Regions from separate parts of the Homo sapiens genome. Here regions 1, 2 and 3 are each linked to region 4. Evidence: promoter capture Hi-C in 16 types of primary human blood cells and fetal thymus (Javierre and others, 2016). All regions are on one chromosome and are shown on one strand. Each heading gives the region's core, a stretch centred on a gene start or on the middle of the fragment in contact. The rest is flanking DNA. Distances are from core to core; before and after follow the strand shown.

Region 1 (4,286 bases), core at 1,190-3,689, 570 kb before region 4:
GACATAGCCCTTTAAGAAAAACTCTGCTGGGCCCTGGTCTGGATCCTAACTCATCCTTATACTTAACTATTAACCAAGTATCAGATATGGCAAGCTGGTTCTAAGGCATCCTAATACAGTCAATAGACATTGTTCTAATCACTATGAACAGGAATTAGAACTACAATATCCAAAAATTTTAAACTAGCATCAAGGAATGAAAGAAGCAGAAATGGCCCCCTGTGCTCCAGAAGTCCTTCCAGTGATAAGATCCCTGACCAAACAAAGAGGCCTCCTTACCCGGGCATAGGCCAGAACCCCATCCTTCAGCCTAAAGGTGGCCCCAGCCTTTTTGAAAAAACCCTGGACAGGAACATCATCCAGCACTGCTCCAAGGTTCTGGCAAGAGAGTCGGGTGAGTGGGCGTCCAGGCTGTAGGAAGATGGGGCGCAGGCTCAGGTGCACAACTCTGGTTCGAGGATGGACGCAAAGGATGCAGGCCCTCACCTAGACAAAAGGAAGGGCAGGGTGAGCAGGAGGAGGCACACAGGAGCACCCTAGAGCAGACCTTCCAGGCATCAAGCCTTTCCACATGCTAACCAGGTATGTGAGTACTCACATCCTTAGTATGTAAGTACTCAAACTGGCTTCCACACTCAAGCAGAATGCAGAAAAATCAAAATGTCCCATAGGGACTATGTATGACTAAATCAAAGCTTACTCAAGCCAGGTATGGGTGGCTCACACTGGTAATCCCAGCACTTTGGGACACCAAGGCAGGTGGATCACTTGAGCTCAGGAGTTAGAGACCAGCCTGCGCACATAGTGAAACCCTGTCTCAACAAAAAATACAAAAATAGGCTGGGGATCATGGCTCACGCCTGTAATCCCAGCACTTTGGGAGTCTGAGGTGGGCAGATCACTTGAGATCAGGAGTCTGAGACAGCCCAGCCAACATGGCGAAACCTCATCTCTAGTTTTAATAAAAAAAAGTTAGGCTGGAAGCAGTGGCTGATGCCTATAATCCCAGCTCTTTGGGAGGCCGAAGCAGGCAGCAGGCAGATCACGAGGTCAGGAGATCAAGGCCATCCTGGCTAACACAGTGAAACCCCGTCTCTACTAAAAATACAAAAAATTAGCTGGGTGTGGTGGCACACACCTGTAATCCCAGCTACTCAGGAGGCTCAAGCAGGAGAATCGCTTGAACCCAAGAGGCGGAGACTGCAGTGAGCCAAGATCACGCCACTGCACTCCAGCCTGGGCGACAGAGCAAGACTCCGTCTCAAAAAAAAAAATTAGCCGGGCATGGTGGTACGTACCTGTAATTCCAGCTACTCAGGAGGCTGAGGCACAAGAATCACTTAAAATGGGGAGGCAGAGGTTGCAGTGAGCCAACACTGTGCCACTGCACTCCAGCCTGGGTGACAAAGTAAGACTCAGTCTCAAGAAAAAAAAAAAAAGTTAGCCAAGCATGGTGGCATGCACCACTTTGGGAGGCTGAGGCAGGAGAATCACCTGAGTGAGCCCAGGAGGTCAAGGCTGCAGTGAGTGATGATCGTGCCACTGCACTCCAGCCTGGGTGACAGAGTGAGACCCTGTCTCAAAAAATAATAATAAAATAAATAAATAAAAATTAGCCAGAAAGTTTACTCAAGGCCAGAAAACTATATACTAGGTGTCCCCTCAACACCAAGGAGCTGATGTATCTGTAATACAACAGAAACCATGTACTGGTGTCACTGCATCCAAGGCTCCTCTGAAACTAACAGAAAAAGCCTGATCTCATCATAACATTAAAAGATGTAAAATGTCTCAACTCTATACACAAATGCTTATAGGGTGAAAAAAATTACTAAAAAGAGGTTTAGGAAAATATTAACAGTATTACCACTAGGTAGTAGAAAATCCTAGTTTCACTTTAAAAAAAAATTCTCAGCTAGTTGTAGTGGCTGAAGCCTATAATCCCAGCACTTTAGGAGGCTAATCCCAGCACTTTAGGAGGCCTAGGCAGGAGGATCATTTGAGCCCAGGTGTTTAAGACCAGCCTGAGCAACACAGCGAGACCCCATCTCTATAAAACATAGCAAAAATTAGCTGGGCGTGGTGGCATGCATCCGTAGTCCCAGCTACTCAGGAGGCTGAGGTGGAAGGATCGCCTGAACCCAGGAGGTTGAGGTTGCAATTAACCGTGGTTGTGCCATTGTACTCCACTCTGGGCAATAGTGTGTGACCTTGTCTCAAAAAATAAATAAATAAATAAATTATCTATAGCACACATTACTATTTAAAAAAAGAAAAGTAAGAAATCATTTTAGAATTCTAAAAAATTCTGAATAACATATATTAGGATTTTCTTCCCAAATATCCATGTTCATTGTAGGAAATTTGAATATTTAAATACGAGCGGAGCCAGGGTTGTGGCTCACACCTGTAATCCCTGCACTTTGGGAGGCCAAGGTTGGGGGACTCCTTGAGCCCCGGAGTTCAAAACCAGTCTGGGCAACATGGCGAGACCTCGCCTGTAAAAATTTTTTTTTTTTTTTTTTTAAAGACAGAGTCTCACTCTGTCGCTCAGGCTGGGGTGCAGTGGCACAATCTCGGCTCACTGCAACCTCTGCCTCCTGGGTTCAAGCGATTCTCCTGCCTCAGTCTCCCGAGTAGCTGGGACTACAGGCACGCACCACCAGGTCTGGCTAATTTTTTTTATTTTTAGTAGAGACGGGGTTTCACCATGCTGGCCAGGCTGGTTTTGAACTCCTGACCTTGTGATCCTCCCACCTCGGCCTACCAAAGTGCTGGGATTATAGGCGTGAGCCACCACACCTGGCCTAAAAAAAATTTTTTTTAACTAGCCAGGCATTGTGGCACACATCTGTGGTCCTAGCTACTCTGAGGACTAAGGTGGGAGATCAATTGAGTCCAGGAGATTGAAGCTGCAGTGAGCCGTGTTTGCGCCACTGCACTCCAGCCTGGGTGACAGAGTAAGACACTGTCTTAAAAAAAAAAGAAAAAAAAAAAAAAGAAAAGAAAAGAAAAATCACCCAGAATTCATCACTATTAACACCTGATTGCCTAATATTCCAGTATTTTAACCAGAGGTACTTTTTAAAATTTTTTTCAAAGTTGGATCTATACTATACAACTTTTAAAATCACCTTTTGCTGTTTAAACGTATCTTATTCTCCTATGTTAAATATTCTTCTAAACTACTTTAAATTATAAAAACAAAAATACTACTACCACCAAAGGAAAAAAAAATCAAACTATATGGAAGACTATGAAGTAAAAACTGAAAGTTGCCTTCTTCTCCACCTGCTCCTTCTCTAATTTCAGTTCAGCCACTGAGAGTTTCTTACTTTCCTTCCATAACACTTTTTTTTTTTTTTTTGAGATGGAGTCTCGCTCTGTTGTCTAGGCTGGAGTGCAGTGGCACGATCTCAGCTCACTGCAACCTCGGCCTCCCGGGTTCAAGCGATTCTCCTGCCTCACCTTCCTGAGTAGCTGGGACTACAGGCATGCGCCACCACGCCTGGCTAATTTTTGTATTTTTAGTAGAGACGGGGTTTCACCATGTTGGCCAGGCTAGTCTTGAACTCCTGACCTTAAGTGATCCGCCCACCTCACCTCCTAAAGTGTTGGGATTACAAGCATGAGCCACTGCATCTGGCCTCCATAACACTTTTCATTATTCCTCTCATCTCCTCTCTGCACACCTGTATGCATGCAGTCCTAGGACCTCCCTGTAGCTAGCTGTGATACTGGACAGCAAATGGACCACAACTGGAATCAAGAAAATATAGGCTCAACATTTCTTACTGCCTGATTTGAGAAATATGTTCCAGCTTTCTTGGGATCCAGGTGCATAAAGTCAACCACGCCCGTGAAGAATGTGAGGAAGTTTAGCGTAAGGCCAAATGGAGTCACCTAGAAATAAACAGAACAAGTTATAAAAAAAAGTTCTTTGAAAGAACCAGGAATGTGAGACATTGCTCACAGTAAACACTCAATGCCATAGTATCCCTAACTGTGTATCTCTCCTCTCCCAGGTAACTCTTAACAATCTTTTCTTCCTATACAAATAACTGGCAGAACAATTCCTGCACTGGCTGTTTCTTTCCTTAGTAGGCTCACCTCCCTTCCAGCTAAGAGAGGACATCAATCCTCCCACTCTCTGGGAGTCCTCCATGGAATGGAAGAAGCTTTGTATATGTATCCTTGGGGAACTGCCAGCCTGACAACTGGAATAGATTGTTACTAACTTAGATATTTTCCCAGTATAGGAAGGTAAAAAAAAAAGGTTAAAAAAA
Region 2 (4,966 bases), core at 2,238-4,737, 850 kb before region 4:
TGTGACTTGGCCCCTGGCTGCCTTCCTGACCTGGGCTTTACCCCTCTTGTCCCCGCCCATCACACTGCTCAGCCACACCAGTCACCTTCTGCTCCTTAAACGCATCAAACACATTCTTCTACGTGGCCTTTGTACTTGCTCTTCCCTCTTGCCTGTAATGTTCTTCCCTGATCTTTCACATGGCTGGCTCCTTAAGATTTCTGCTTAAAACTGTCACCTTCTTAGCGAAGCTGCCTGATCCTGCACTGTCCAGCCTCCCCCGCAGATTACTCCTCTTCTTCCCTCCTCATCGCTTCCCACACTCTAGTGATCCTGTGTGTTTGCTTGCTTCTTCTCTGTCTCCCACCACCTCAAGAGCAAAGACCTTGGCTGCAGGGCTTGCACCAGCCCCAGGGTCCACTGGTACTTTTTGAATGGGTGGGTGGATGGAAGAAAGCATGCATGAATGAGTGAACCTTGTGCAGGCTCAGGAAAGAAAGGTCATTGTGGCTTTAAATTGGGGATCATTGCCTGGAAAGAGGAGACATTTTTCTGGTTTGGGAGCAGAGAGCGGGAGGCTTTGGTAATCCAGAGAGAGCACATGCACAAAGGTAGAGGGATAGGACTAAGTGTGGCTTGTTGGGAGACTGACCTAACTGAGCATCAACTATGCCAAGCACTGCGCAAGGTGTCGAGGCTATAGGAACGTGCCTTTCTACCCTAGAGAAGTTTGCAGTCTGCTGTGGGTGATGAGCTATATAGAAGAATGTACTATTAGATGGAGGGAAGTGAGGGAGCAACATGGTTACCTGAGGAAGAGCAGTCCAGGCCAAGGGCACAGCAAGTGCAAAGGCCCTGGGGTGACGGTGTGTGCTGGCTGCTCATGATGCAGTAGGGAGGCCTGTGGCTGGGATGAAGAATAGTGGAGGGTAAAGTGGAAAGAGGTGAGAGCAGAGATGTAGCTGGCAGTGGGGAGGGAATAGGGTGAAGCAGCACCATGTAGGGCCTTGCAGGACATTCTAAGGATTTTGACTTTCATCGAGTGAGATGAAGATTCACTGAGGGGTTCTAAGTAGAGGCAGGGACATGATCTGGCTTCAATCATAGAATGATGGGGATTGACTAGGCAGGATGGGTTATGATGTGCAAGGTCGCAGGGGGCTGCTAGCCAGGTGAGATAGGATGTGGGCTCTGGCAGCAGTGGAGGGGGCAAGGCACTGCGGGTGTTGGACAGACTCTGATGATTGGATGTGGGCCTCAAGGGAGAGTTTGTGTGGGAGCTGGGAAACAACTGCATCAGGTTGCCTGGGGTCCCACTCTTAGGCCGACAACTTGCCAGTCATGTGACTTGGGCAAATCCCTTCGCCTCTGAGAACAGATTATCTCACCTGTTCTGTTGTATCAGCCAGGGTTCAACTAAAGGAACAGAACGAGTGGGAGGTATATATTAAGCGATGTAGTGTAAGGAACTAGCTTACACAATTGTGGGGGCTGGCTAGGTAAGTCTGAAATCCTATGGCAGGTCATGAAAGGGGGCAGGCTGGACCCCCAGGCCCAGGCTGGAGCTGCTGTCCGCAGATGAAATGTCTTCAGGGAAACCTTCACTCTGCTGAAGGCCTTTCAGCTACTGACTCAGGCCCACCCAGAGTGTTTTAGATAATTTCCCTTACTTAAAGTCATCCGGTCATGGTCTTTAATAACTATAAAAATACATTCCCAACCAGGCGCAGTGGCTCATGCCTGTAATCCCAGCACTTTGGGAGACCGAGGCAGGTGGATCACCTGAGGTCAGGAGTTTGAGACCAGCCTGGCCAACATGGCAAAACCCCGTCTCTACTAAAAATACAAAAAATTAGCTGGACGTGGTGGCGGGTGCTTGTAATCCCAGCTACTGAGGAGGCTGAGGCAGGGAGAATCTTGAACCCAGGAGGTGGAGGTTGCAGTGAGCCGAGATCATGCCATTGCACTCCAGCTTGGGCAACAGAGCGAGGCTCTGTCTCAAAAAAAAAAAAAAAAAAAATTCCCCAGCAACACCTAAATTAGTGTGTGATTGCATAACTGGGGACAGTAGCTTAGCCAGGTTGATGTGTACCACCTGACCATCATACCTGTCAAATGGGGTTGTTATAGTAGCAGCGACCTGGCTTGCCCCAAAGTGCACAGGGTTCAAGGAGGTGATGCCCTTTGAGGGGTTTTGTGCTGTGCCTGGCAGTAGGAAGGGCCTGTTGTTGTTAGCTGTTGTTGCTTCCCCAAGGTGGGCACTGCTCCAGGAGCCCCAGTGGGGCTGGAGCAGACTCCCCAGAGCAAGGGGTTCTCTTGAGACCTGCAAAGATCTCATGCCTCTCACCCAGTTCTCTAAAAAGCTGCATTTCGCCAGGGCACCTAGCCGGGAAGTTCTGAGATGCGCCACTAGGGGGCACAGGTGGCCACGGAGCCTCGGGATTGTCAGGGCCCTGGGGCTGTTGTCAGGAGAGCCTGAGGGTTCATCCAACCCAGGAGTCCTGTGGAAGCTCCAGCTCGTTTACATGCAGATGAGGTTGCTCAAGAGTGTTGTTACAAGCTTGTTCTCTTAGGCAAGTGTTGATGTTCCTCATGAAATCCTGTTTACTTTATTCTTCTCCTTGGAAAAGTGGTGAGCTCAGCCCCACTTCTATCTCAGTGATCATAAAACTGTATTATTAGCTGAGTTCATGAGATCAGCATTAATGTAGTTTCACTGCAGAGAAGCAGTGTTGCCTGGGGTTGACAGTTTAGGTTTTGGCAACAGGAAGACAGGGTTTGAACCCCAGCTCTGCCATTTGTTATTGCCGTTTTAATTATTGATAGATTAAGAAAGAAGGGGAGAAGTTGGTCTTTGAGTTGAGACATTTATTTCCATTCTGTGAGACCCAGGAGGGGACGACAGGGCGTAGACTCAGCCATTGCTGAGTATTCCGTTGAGTTAAAAACGTGGACTCTGGAGCCAGAATGCTTAGTTTCATGTCCCGGCTCTGCCTGCTGTGTGATCTTGGGCAAGTCCTTCTCTATGGCTCATTTCTTCACCTGTAAAATAGGGATAATCAGGTTTTTTTCATGGGGTTGAGGATTGAGTGAAAGTTCCTGAAGTGATAACTCCAGCACCGTGCCTGGCCTAGAGGAAGCACTAAGGGTGAAGCAGCTTTTACTATGAATAGGAGGCAGCACCGGAGGGGTTCGTCTCAAACAGGAGAGAGCGCTGGTTTCAGCTTTTGCCCTTTCTCCGGAGTGACTCCTCAATCAGACAGGGGGAAGGTGGGGTGTCCACTATCTCATCATTGCCAGGAGCCTCCCTGCAACAACCAGGGTAGGTGGTCTTGTCCCATTTTATAGACCAGGAAAGGGAAGTTAAGGAACTTGCCCCAGGTCAGCCAGACACAGGATTCTCTTTTTTTTTTTTTTTTTTTTTTTTTGAGACAGAGTTTTGCTGTTTGCCTGGGCTGGAGTGCAGTGGCACAATCTCAGCTCACTGCAACCTCCACCTCCTGGGTTCAAGTGATTCTCCTGCCTCAGCCTCCCAAGTAGATGGAATTATAGGCGTCCGCCACCATGCCCAGCTAATTTTTTGTATTTTTAGTAGAGATGGGATTTCACCATGTTGGCTAGGCTGGTCTTGAACTCCTGACCCCAGGTGATCCACCCACCTTGGCCTCCCAAAGTGCTGGGATTACAGGTGTGAACCACCATGACTGGCCTTTTTTTTGTTTTTGTTTTTGTTTTTGCTTTTTTGAGACAGGGCCCCAGGCTCTGTCGTTCAGACTGGAGTGTGGTGGCACAACCACAGCTCACTGCAGACTTGACCTCCTGGCTTCAAGCAATCCTCTCACCTCAGCCTTCTGAGTAGTTGGGACTACAGACATGCACCACCACGTCCAGTTAGTTTTTGTAGAGACAGGGTCTCGCTATGTTGCCCAGGGTGGTCTTGAACTCCTAGGATCAAGTGACTATCCTGCCTCGGCCTCCCAAAGTGCTGGGATTACAGGTGTGAACCGCAGCACACAGCCTAATTTTCCTTTTTATGAGTTTGGTTTTTAATAAAGTGAATTTGCTTAGAGCAAGACCCGCCCATAAGTTCTGGCCACTATTAAGGGTTAGTCTATGGCCGGGCGTGGTGGCTCGCTCCTGTAATCCTAGCACTTTGGAAGACCGAGGCAGTTGGATCTCCTGAGATCAGGAGTTCAAGACCGACATGATGAAACCTCGTCTCTACTAAAAATACGAAAAATTAGCCGGATGTGGTGGCCCGCACCTGTAATCCCAGCTACTCGGGAGGCTGAGGCAGGAGAATCACTTGAACCCAGGGGGCGGAGTTTGCAGTGAGCCAAGATGGTGCCACTGCACTCCAGCCTGGGTGACAGAGTGAGATTCCGTCTCAAAAAAAAAAAGGGTTAGTCTACCTGAAAAAGTTCCTCTATTCTCCTCCTTTTATAGAGGAAGCTTTTAAGAGAGGGATGGCCACTTGCCCAGGGTATGGGGTGGGCAGAACCTGGTCTTCTGCTGGTCAGCACTCCCACCAAGCCCTGGAACCAGGTGGAAGTGTGAGGAGGGCTGTCAGGTGGAAGTGTGAGGAGGGCTGTCCTGAAGCACAGGAAGCCGGTCTGTGAGGTCTCTGGTACCTCCCTTCCCCGCAAGGTAAATACCTCAGCAGGGCACTAGCAGAGCTGGGCTCTCTGGCCCTCCCTGGGCCTGCCCTGCCCAACCAGCAGCAGAGGGAGATGGAGGGAGACGAGGCAGTGGCAGCAGGCCTCCTCCCTCCAGAGCGCAGGCTTTGTGAGGCTTTCACTTCTCTTAATAGTTTGTTGGCTCCTGGCCCCATGGAGTGCACAGCTCAACTGAGAAGGTGGGACCTTTTCAGGGATTCATTAATACTAGGCAGGATGGCTTGGGATCTGCAAGGTGGAAGGAGGGGTGGCTGGCCATTGTGGGAGAGGCTGGAGATGGCCCTGAAGGACAGAGGAGATTGTGATGGGCT
Region 3 (4,675 bases), core at 1,458-3,957, 540 kb before region 4:
ACCCAGGCTGGAGTGCAGTGGTGCAATCTCGGCTCATTGCAACCTCTGCCTCCCATGTTCAAGTGACTTTCCTGCCTCGGCCTCCCAAGTAGCCAGGATTACAGGTGGGCGCCACCACACCCTGCTAATTTTTGTACTTTTTAGTGGAGACAGGATTTCCCATGTTGGCCAGGCTGGTCTCAAACTCCTGATCTCAGGTGATGCGCCTGTCTTGGACTCCCAAAGTGCTGGGATTATAGGCGTGAGCCACTGTGCCCGGCCTGAAAGCTATTATCTATCCAAGTAATATACTGATGGTATTATGAATACAAAACACCCTCCACCCATTTTTACAGTGTTAGAGATCATGAAAAATAGGCAAATACCTATACACATAGGATGACATTGTAATCATACACCTAAAGGGAAGCAAACCAATTTTGAATTTCCTTTTTCATTTACTCTTAGTACTTTTGATTATAGAAAGATTAATCCTCAATTACTAGCTAATATGCCATTAATGTCAGGAATTTGTCTTAAATTTGATGAAGCAGCCAGAAGACACAATGCAGGGACCCAATGAAGCAATTCAACCCCTAATGGAGTTCTATAAAACTAAAGCTTTGGTTGGTTATTTACCATTGGGTAACAAATAAAAATAATTAAAAAAAAAAAAGGGAAATACTAAAGCTAATTTTTAAAACCAGTAAGCCCTGAAACTGTGCATTTTGATTCTATAAATTTGAGTATACAGGCCAGGCACAGTGGCTCACGCCTGTAATCCCAGCACTTTGGGAGGCTGAGGTGGGCAGATCACCTGAGGTTGAGAGTTCAAGACCAGCCTGACCAACATGGAGAAACCCCATCTCTAATAAAAAAATAAAATTAGCCAGGTGTGGTGGCGCATGCCTGTAATCCCAGCTACTCAGGAGGCTGAGCCAGGAGAATCGCTTGAACCCAGGAGGCGGAGGTTGCGGTAAGCCAAGATCACGCCATTGCACTCCAACCTGGGCAACAAGAGCGAAACTCTGTCTCAAAAAAAAAAAAAAAAAAGTGAGTATACATTAAATTGCTACCATGTACAAACACCAGGATTCAAAGATGAATTAGCAAATGGCAAGATTCTAAAAGATGATGAACGTCAGACAACCATGAGATTTTTATCAGAATTTTCCCAGCATTTGCATAATGTTTCCAGTAGTTAACTTTTATATAATTTCAATATAACATAGCAGTATTTAATTTTTATTGTTTGTATTTTACCTATCCGGACTGAAGCTGGCTCCGTAGACAGGCCCACTGTGACCATACAAAATCTTCAACTCACTTGCTGTTTTCTCATCCATGATTCTTTCTAAGACATCATCTGATTCTTTGTCTATAAGACTAAGATCTAAAATGGTCCAGAAATATTGATATTTTATAAGTACATTCATCAAAACTTTTAAAGTAATCATATCACAGTGCAGGAGAGGAATTAACATTTGAAAATTTCCTCCTATATACCAACCGCACTTTGCTAATCCCTCTAAATTAGGCAGTATCATCTCAGCGTGTAAGAGAAGAAAATGACGTTCAGAACAGATAATTTGCTAGAGTGCACACAGCTACTCAGTGTGGGAACCAGAACTGAAACTCAGTTTTGCCCACTATGCCACAGTGTTTCACAAAATGAAAACTATGGGCCAGGCATGGTGGCTCACACCTGTAGTCTCAGAATTTTGGTAGGCCAAGGCGGGCAGATTGCTTGAGCCCAGAGGAGTTCGAGACCAGCCTGGACAACATGGAGAAACCCTGTCTCTACAAAAAATAAAAAATTAGCCAGTGTGGTTGCACACACCTGTAGTCTCAGCTACTCAGGAGGCTGAAGTGGGAGGATCACTTCAGCCCAGGGATTAGAGGCTGCAGTGAGCCGTGATCACACCACTGCATTCTAGCCTGGGCAACAGAGTGAGACCCCATCTAAAAAAAATTTAAAATTAAAAAAAAAAAACCTATGGAAATATTGAAATAATTTAAAATATATTGTTTTATTTAAATAATATAGTTAGTAAAAAACTTTATTTCAGGCCGGGTGTGGAGGCAGGAAAATCGCTTGAACCAGGGAGGTGGAGGTTGCAGTGAGCCACCTATAATTCCAGCACTTTGGGAGGCCAGACAGGCGGATCACTTGAGGTCAGGAGTTCGAGACCAGCCTGGCCAACATGGCGAAACCCTATCTCTACTAAAAATACAAAAATTACCTGGGCATGGTGGTGGGCACCTGTAATCCCAGCTACTGGGGAGCTGGGGAGCTGACACAAGAAAATCCCTTGAACCTGGGAGGTAGAGGCTGTAGTGAGCCAAGACTGCGCCATTGCACTCTAGCCTGGGTGACAGGGCGAGACTCTGTCTCAAAAAAACAAAAAGTAAAAAACTTTCAAATAAAATCCTGACCTTATTTGTTCTTTTTAGCCATTTTTATGACTAAAACAGGAAGTACCATCCCTTATTTAAAGATTTTTTAAGATTTACAAGCAATCATAAAATGTTAGATTTTTAACTTTAAGTTTTTTAGCTTAATACTCACTCATTCTACAGATGAGAAAACTGAGACCTAAAGAAATTAAACCAGTCTAGCACCCCAGTCACTCCAAAGCTTTTTTCACTGTTGGGAATGTTAGAATCTTGAGTTAAAGTAAAATCAAGTGAATTTCTGTAAAGAACACAATCTCCTGTGTATTTTCCATGGAATCAAGATTGGTATAGACTAATGGCAAGTTCACATTCCAAAAGGTCATCTCAGTTACCTGATGCTTGTTTGACACTACGAAGCTTTTTGGGTGTTACCGACCACACTCTGACAGTTGAATCTGCAAAACCTCCAGCAATCAGACTAGAATCATCAGTGACATCCACTGCAGTGAGACCCTGCCAATAAAAGGGTTAGACTAAACAATACTATTTTAGGATATTTAGAGATAGGAAGCAAATGTTAATCATTTTCACACTATACTAAATATCTCCTCAATCCTCTATTTTAAGGAATATATAAAGACTTTTAAAATTCTTGATTTAAAATATTGGCCAAGCGCACTGGCTCATGCCTGTAATCCCAACAATTTGGGAGGCTGAGACAGGTGGATCACCTGAGGTTAGGAGTTCAAGACCAGCCTGGCCAACATGGTGAAACCCCATCTCTACTAAAAATACCAAAATTAGCCAAGCAGGGTGGTGGGCACCTGTAATCCCATCTACTTGTGAGGCTGACGCAAGAGAATCACTTGAACCCAGGAGGCAGAGGTTGCAGTGAGCCAAAATCGTGCCACTGCACTCCAGCCTGGGCGACAGAGTGAGACTCCATCTCAAAAAAAAAATAATAATAAAATAAAATACTAAGTTTGGCCGGGCGCGGGGGTTCATGCCTGTTATCACAGCACTTTAGGAGGCTGAGGCGGGTGGATTGCCTGAGCTCAGGAATTCAAGTCCAGCCTGGTCAACCTGGTGAAACCCCTTCTCTACTGAAAATACAAAAATTAGCTGGGCGTGGTGGCTCATGCCTATAATCCCAGCTACTCAGGAGGCTGAGGCAGGAGAATCACTTGAACTGGGAGGCGGAGGTTGCAGTGAGCCAAAATTGCACCACCGCACTCCAGCCTAGGTGTCAGAGCAAGACTCCATCTCAAAAAATGAAATTAAATTAAAATAATAAAATAAAATAAGGTTTATATGGCTGGGCACGGTGGCTCACGCCTGTAATCCCAGCACTTTGGGAGGCTGAGGCGGCCAGATCACTTGAGGTCAGGAGTTCAAGACCAGCCTGGGCAACACGGCAAAATCCTGTCTCTACTAAAAATACAAAAATTAGCCAGGCATGGTGGAGGGTGCCTGTAATCCCAGCTATTCAGGAGGCCGAGGCTGAGGCACAAGAATCGTTTGAACCCGGGAGGCAGAGGTTGCAGTGAGCTGAGATCTCACCTCTGCACTCCACCCTAGGTGACAGCACAAAACTCTGTCTCAAAAAAAAAAAAAAATTGATAAATAAGTTTACGTAAGTACTTAAACCAAGTTCAACAGAAATGAACTACAATTTGCTCCTCCTCAAAGGCTAGCAGAATTCTGATCGGTGAAACAAATGCCATTAAACATTGACTTCTATCTATTCTGTGCAGTATCCAATTCTCTCTTCCTGAATGCTGTCTTTAAATTGTATAAGAGTTTAGGGGCCACATGCGGTGGCTCATGCCTGTAATCCCAGCACTTTGGGAGGCTGAGGCAGGCGGATCACAAGGTCAGGAGATCGAGACCATCCTGGCTAACACGGTGAAACCCCATCTCTACTAAAAATACAAAAAATTAGCCGGGCATGGCGGTATGCGCCTGTAGTCCCAGCTGCTGGGGAAGCTGAGGCAGAAGAATGGCATGAACCTGGGAGGCGGACATTGCAGTGAGCTGAGATCGCGCCACTGCACTCCAGCTGGGCGACAGAGCGAGACTCTGTCTCAGAAAAAAAAAAAAAAGGAGTTTAAATAACGAAACTCCATTTTAGCTAATACATTTGTTTCTCTCTTAATGGTAAATCATCATCCTACATGACTCTCCAGGCAGAAATCGCCCAATTTTTTTACCAACCTGGTAAGCATTGAGAAATGTATAGAAACAAATGGAGGGTAAGCAGTCCGGCCCAAGGCGCACTCGTTTGGTGGTTTCTTTCATA
Region 4 (4,759 bases), core at 1,813-4,312:
TGTCCAGACTGCGAGTATGGGAAGGGGAAACTTTTCTTTCTGTTGTCCCCACTACCACCCCTCACATCCGTGATTCTGAAACCCATGATAAATCCCCTTTGGACCATTTTCCTCTTTTTGATGCCAGTCCTCCTTTATGGGACTCTGATTGGCATTATGATAATTCTTCTGGACCCAGGTATGTCCCCCTACCTCTTCAGAATCCCCGGGCACCTCGGATTGCTTCTTTACGGCATCAAACATTGGGCGTTGCCACCGCCACTCCTCCCCCTCGGTATCAACGTAGATTCAAACATTCTGCTTTGTTTACCTCCAGCCTGACTATTATACAGAGTTGTGTTAAGCCTCCTTACATGCTGTTAGTGGGAAATATCAAAATTTGGATGAACAATCAAACCGTCCAATGCATTAATTGTCATTTATCCACTTGTGTTAACTCCCGTTTTGACTCAGGAAAAGTGTAATGTTGGTTCGAGCTTGAGAAGGAATCTGGATACCAGTAACTTTACCCAGAACTTGGGAATCTTCCCCCTCAGTACATTTAATTAATGAAGTGTTACAACGAATTCTCAAAAGATCAAGAGATTTGTTTTCACTTTAATCACTGTGATCATGGGCCTAATTACAGTCACTGCACTGGCCACCACTGCCGGAGTGGCATTACACCAATCTATTCAAATGGCTAATTTTGTTAATGATTGGTAAGGCAATTCCACCCAAATGTGGAATCCTCAACAAGGCATTGATCAAAAATTAGCTAATGATTTAAGACAGTCTGTTATTTGGCTTGGGGACCAGCTAATGAGTCTCGAACATCACATGCAAATGCAGTTCGATTGCAACACTTCTGATTTCTATAGCACACCATATTCCTACAACGAGACTGATCATGGGAAATGGTCAAAGGACACCTTCTGGGTAGGGAAGATAATTTATCCTTGGACATAACTAAATTAAAGAAACAAATTTTTGAAGCCTCTCAAGCTCATTTATCCATTGTGCCTGGAGCTGAGGCGTTAGATCAGGTGGCAGAAAGTCTTTCTGGACTAAACTCCACAACTTGGATTAAGTCTACTGGGGGCTCCACTGTAGGAAATTTTGGAATCATGTTTCTCTGTTTAATCGGCTTGTTTTTAGTGTGCCAGACCAGTCAAAGAATCCTGCATCAAAACCGAGAGAACGAGCAAGCCTTCATCGCCACGGCACATTTATATAAAAAGAAAGGGAGAGATGTTGCGGGAAGTCAGGGACCCTGAATGGAGGGACTGGCTGGAGCCATGGCAGAGGAACATAAATTGTGAAGATTTCATTTTAATATGGACATTTATCAGTTCCCAAATAATACTTTTATAATTTCTTATGCCTGTCTTTACTTTAATCTCTTAATCCTGTTATCTTTGTAAGCTGAGGATGTTTGTCACTTCAGGACCACTGTGATAATTGTGTTAACTGTACAAATTGATTGTAAGACATGTGTTTGAACAATATGAAATTAGTGCACCTTGAAAAAGAACAGAATAAGAGCAATTTTTAGGGAACAAGGGAAAACAACCATAAGGTCTGACTGCCTGCAGGGTCGGGCAGAAAGAGCCATATTTTCCTTCTTGAGAGAGGCTATAAATGGACATGCAAGTAGGGAAGATATCACTAAATTCTTTTCCTAGCAAGGAGTATTATTATTAATACCCTGGGAAAGGAATGCATTCCTGGGGGGAGGTCTATAAACAGCCGCTCTGGGAATGTCTATCTTGTGCAGTTGAGATAAGGACTGAGATACGCCCTGGTCTCCTGCAGTACCCTCAGGCTTACTAGGGTGGGGAAAAACTCCGCCCTGGTAAATTTGTGGTCAGACCGGTTCTCTGCTGTCGAACCCTGTTTGCTGTTGTTTAAGGTGTTTATCAAGACAGTATGTGCACCGCTGAACATAGACCCTCATCTGTAGTTCTGCTTTTGCCCTTTGCCTTGTGATCTTTGTTGGACCCTTATCAGTGGTTCTGCTTTTGCCCTTTGCCTTGTGATCTTTGTTGGACCCTTATCGGTAGTTCTGCTTTTGCCCTTTGTCCTTTCCCTCAGAAGCATGTGATCTTTGTTAGACACTTATTAGTAGTTCTGCTTTTCGCCCTTTGAAGCATGTGATCTTTGTACCTACTCCCTGTTCTTACACCCCCTCCCCTTTTTGAAACCCTTAATAAAAACTTGCTGGTTTGAGGCTCAGGTGGGTATCACAGTCCTACCGATATGTGATGCCACCCCCGGCGGCCCAGCTGTAAAATTCCTCTCTTTATACTGTCTCTCTTTATTTCTCAGCCGGCTGACACTTATAGAAAGAACCTACGTTGAAATATTGGGGGTGGGTTCCCCCAGTACGCTAGTCCTGCTGATGAGCAAAGAAGGTGTTGATGGCATTTTGATCAACAAGAAATGTTATGAAACGGCCTCCCACCTCTGGCATTCCTAGTACTGACCTATCTCTCCCTTCCCTTCCACCGCTCCCCACAGCTTAGCACCCCTTTCGTTCCCATACACATGTACATTTTTATTTTGGGGACCATTAACCCACAGCCCTTATCGCTGCCAAAACCACATGGGCTGGAGGGCCAGGGCTGCATGGACAGTCACACCACTGCACACCAGCCTGGTGATGGAGCAAGACTCTGAAAAAAAAAAAAAGAAGCATAAAAGACCTTTAACAGTCCCTGCTACTTGTGACCCTCCTGAATCTGTCATCTGTCCAGTGATTTTGATTTTGCAACATGGAAAGTTCCAAGCCTTGACTCCTGAGCCCAGATACCATTCGCACTCTGGAGTCATTCAAGCATGGGGAGCTCCTCAGAGGGTGATCAACTGACCTCCCTTACCTAGCTCCTCCTCCGGAGGTTTGCCCTGGAGTTGAGCCAGCCCTTGAGGAGGCCTTCACTCCCACCGCCTCTCTCCCTTCTGGATATGAGCTCAGGCCTGGCTGGGCTCCAGGAGAATCTTTCCACAAGGCAAGAGATAACACAAAGTCAAGGTGAAGATCAGGGTAGCCCTTTAAAAGGCCTCCTTGTGCCCTAGAGTTGCCACAGCTCTTCTACTCCACTGCTGTCTATCTTGCCTGCCGGCACCCAGCCACCATGTGGGAGCTCGTGGCTCTCTTGCTGCTTACCCTAGCTTATTTGTTTTGGCCCAAGAGAAGGTGCCCTGGTGCCAAGTACCCCAAGAGCCTCCTGTCCCTGCCCCTGGTGGGCAGCCTGCCATTCCTCCCCAGACACGGCCATATGCATAACAACTTCTTCAAGCTGCAGAAAAAATATGGCCCCATCTATTCGGTTCGTATGGGCACCAAGACTACAGTGATTGTCGGCCACCACCAGCTGGCCAAGGAGGTGCTTATTAAGAAGGGCAAGGACTTCTCTGGGCGGCCTCAAATGGTAAGTGGTGCCCATCTCCTCCCTGCCCCCTTCACCACCCCCTGGGATTGTTCAGGTCTTCAGACCATGCCTAGAATGGGGCTTCCAGCTCCAACAACCTGTAATTCTTCCCAAAGTAGACTAGTGGGATGATGTGAAGGGAGTGAACCTTCAGACCCCCACCCAGCCTCTAAATTAGGCAGGAAGAATTAAAGGAATGTCTCCTCTACCAGGCTGCCCAGGAGGTGGGATGGGAGGACCACAGTGGTCTGAGGGGTCAAGGAATCCTCACTCCACTCCTCTCTCTGAGCCTAGACTTCTCTAATGGACTGAGAAGGTGCATGTACAGCACTTAGCCTAGCACCCAGCACAGTAAGTGCCCCTTATACAGCCAGGATTCATGTTACTTTTCATGGAAAATGGGGGCAGTGACTACTGTCCTCCATGAAAGCTGCTGGGGAGAATTAGCCTAGCTATTGCAGGCTGGGATTGCTGCTTTCCTGGTGCTATTTCCAGCTACTCAGGCTCACAGGGGCAGTTTTCTACAATGACATTTCAGGGTTGCTGATGAGCCTCCCACTCAGCAGGGCCCCCAGCCTCTCAGCATTTTTTTTTTTTTTTTTTTTTTTTGAGACAGAGTCTCTCTCTGTCGCCCAGCCTGGAGTGCAGTGGCCAATCTCAGCTCACTGCAACCTCTGCCTCCCGGGTTCAAGTGATTCTCCTGCCTCAGCCTCCTGAGTACCTGGGACTACAGGAGCATGCCACCATGCCCGCTAATTTTTTGTATTTTTAGTAGAGATGGTGTTTCACCATGTTAGCCAGGATGGTCTCGATCTCCTGACCTCGTGATCCTCCCACCTTAGCCTCCCAAAGTGCTAGGATTATAGGCGTAAGCCACTGTGCCCTGCCAGCCTCTCAGCTTTGATCAAGCCAAGGGTTGGTTTATTTTTTCTTGGACCAATCAGCCAGGTCTGCTGACCAACTACCTAGCTCCCACCTCTGCTGGCTTCCTCCCGGGGGCAGAGAAGATGGAGAAGGCTAGTCATGTGGATCTTCAGGGTCAGGAAATGGAAAAGGGAGGCTTTGGACCCTTTTGCTTTGGGGGGCACCTCTAGGAGGAGGCGGCTCGGCCCAAGTCCAGACTGGGTAGACAAAACATCTGCACTCTCCAAATGTGGGCTTGTGGCTGGGTATGCAGGCTTGCAATGGAAGGGTAAACCTGAGTGAGGTGAGCTGTGCCTTTAGCTCAGCTAAGGGCTCAGGGAAAAGCAGAGATCTGTGCAGTCCTCAGCCTCTACAAGCTCACCTGCTCCCTACCCTCTGGACAGGCATAGTTTAGAGAGTTTATCCCATCCAGAGTTGCCTTCCTG

What was found. The method cuts DNA at HindIII sites, captures the fragments that hold promoters and counts their contacts. A CHiCAGO score of 5 or more calls a contact.
Region 1: a fragment that was not itself captured here is called in contact with the fragment with the promoter of CYP17A1 in region 4 in 2 of 17 cell types (erythroblasts and M2 macrophages); the score reaches 5.7 in erythroblasts.
Region 2: a fragment that was not itself captured here is called in contact with the fragment with the promoter of CYP17A1 in region 4 in 1 of 17 cell types (neutrophils); the score reaches 5.7 in neutrophils.
Region 3: a contact is called between a fragment that was not itself captured here and the fragment with the promoter of CYP17A1 in region 4, in 2 of 17 cell types (erythroblasts and M1 macrophages). The highest score is 6.0, in erythroblasts.

The regions. Positions count from the first base shown.
Region 1 is chr10:103,409,316-103,413,601 of GRCh38, reverse strand. PDCD11 (programmed cell death 11) reads right to left here. Exons shown (of 36, transcript NM_014976.2): 8 at 3,796-3,903; 9 at 280-486. Among named protein-coding and RNA genes, the nearest start is that of PDCD11, 15 kb to the right of the region's middle. The HindIII fragment of the contact is 3,483 bases long and covers 698-4,180 here.
Region 2 is chr10:103,683,779-103,688,744 of GRCh38, reverse strand. The region is part of intron 6 of SH3PXD2A (SH3 and PX domains 2A); the gene reads left to right. Among named protein-coding and RNA genes, the nearest start is that of SH3PXD2A-AS1, 61 kb to the left of the region's middle. RefSeq lists enhancers at 2,075-2,124, 4,755-4,824. The HindIII fragment of the contact is 1,892 bases long and covers 2,542-4,433 here.
Region 3 is chr10:103,379,935-103,384,609 of GRCh38, reverse strand. TAF5 (TATA-box binding protein associated factor 5) reads right to left here. Exons shown (of 11, transcript NM_006951.5): 5 at 4,591-4,675; 6 at 2,769-2,889; 7 at 1,243-1,372. Among named protein-coding and RNA genes, the nearest start is that of MIR1307, 12 kb to the left of the region's middle. The HindIII fragment of the contact is 176 bases long and covers 2,620-2,795 here.
Region 4 is chr10:102,835,716-102,840,474 of GRCh38, reverse strand. CYP17A1 (cytochrome P450 family 17 subfamily A member 1) reads left to right here and starts at 3,062. Exons shown (of 8, transcript NM_000102.4): 1 at 3,062-3,410. The coding sequence starts at 3,114. RefSeq lists a promoter at 2,823-3,102. The HindIII fragment of the contact is 11,808 bases long and covers 1-4,759 here.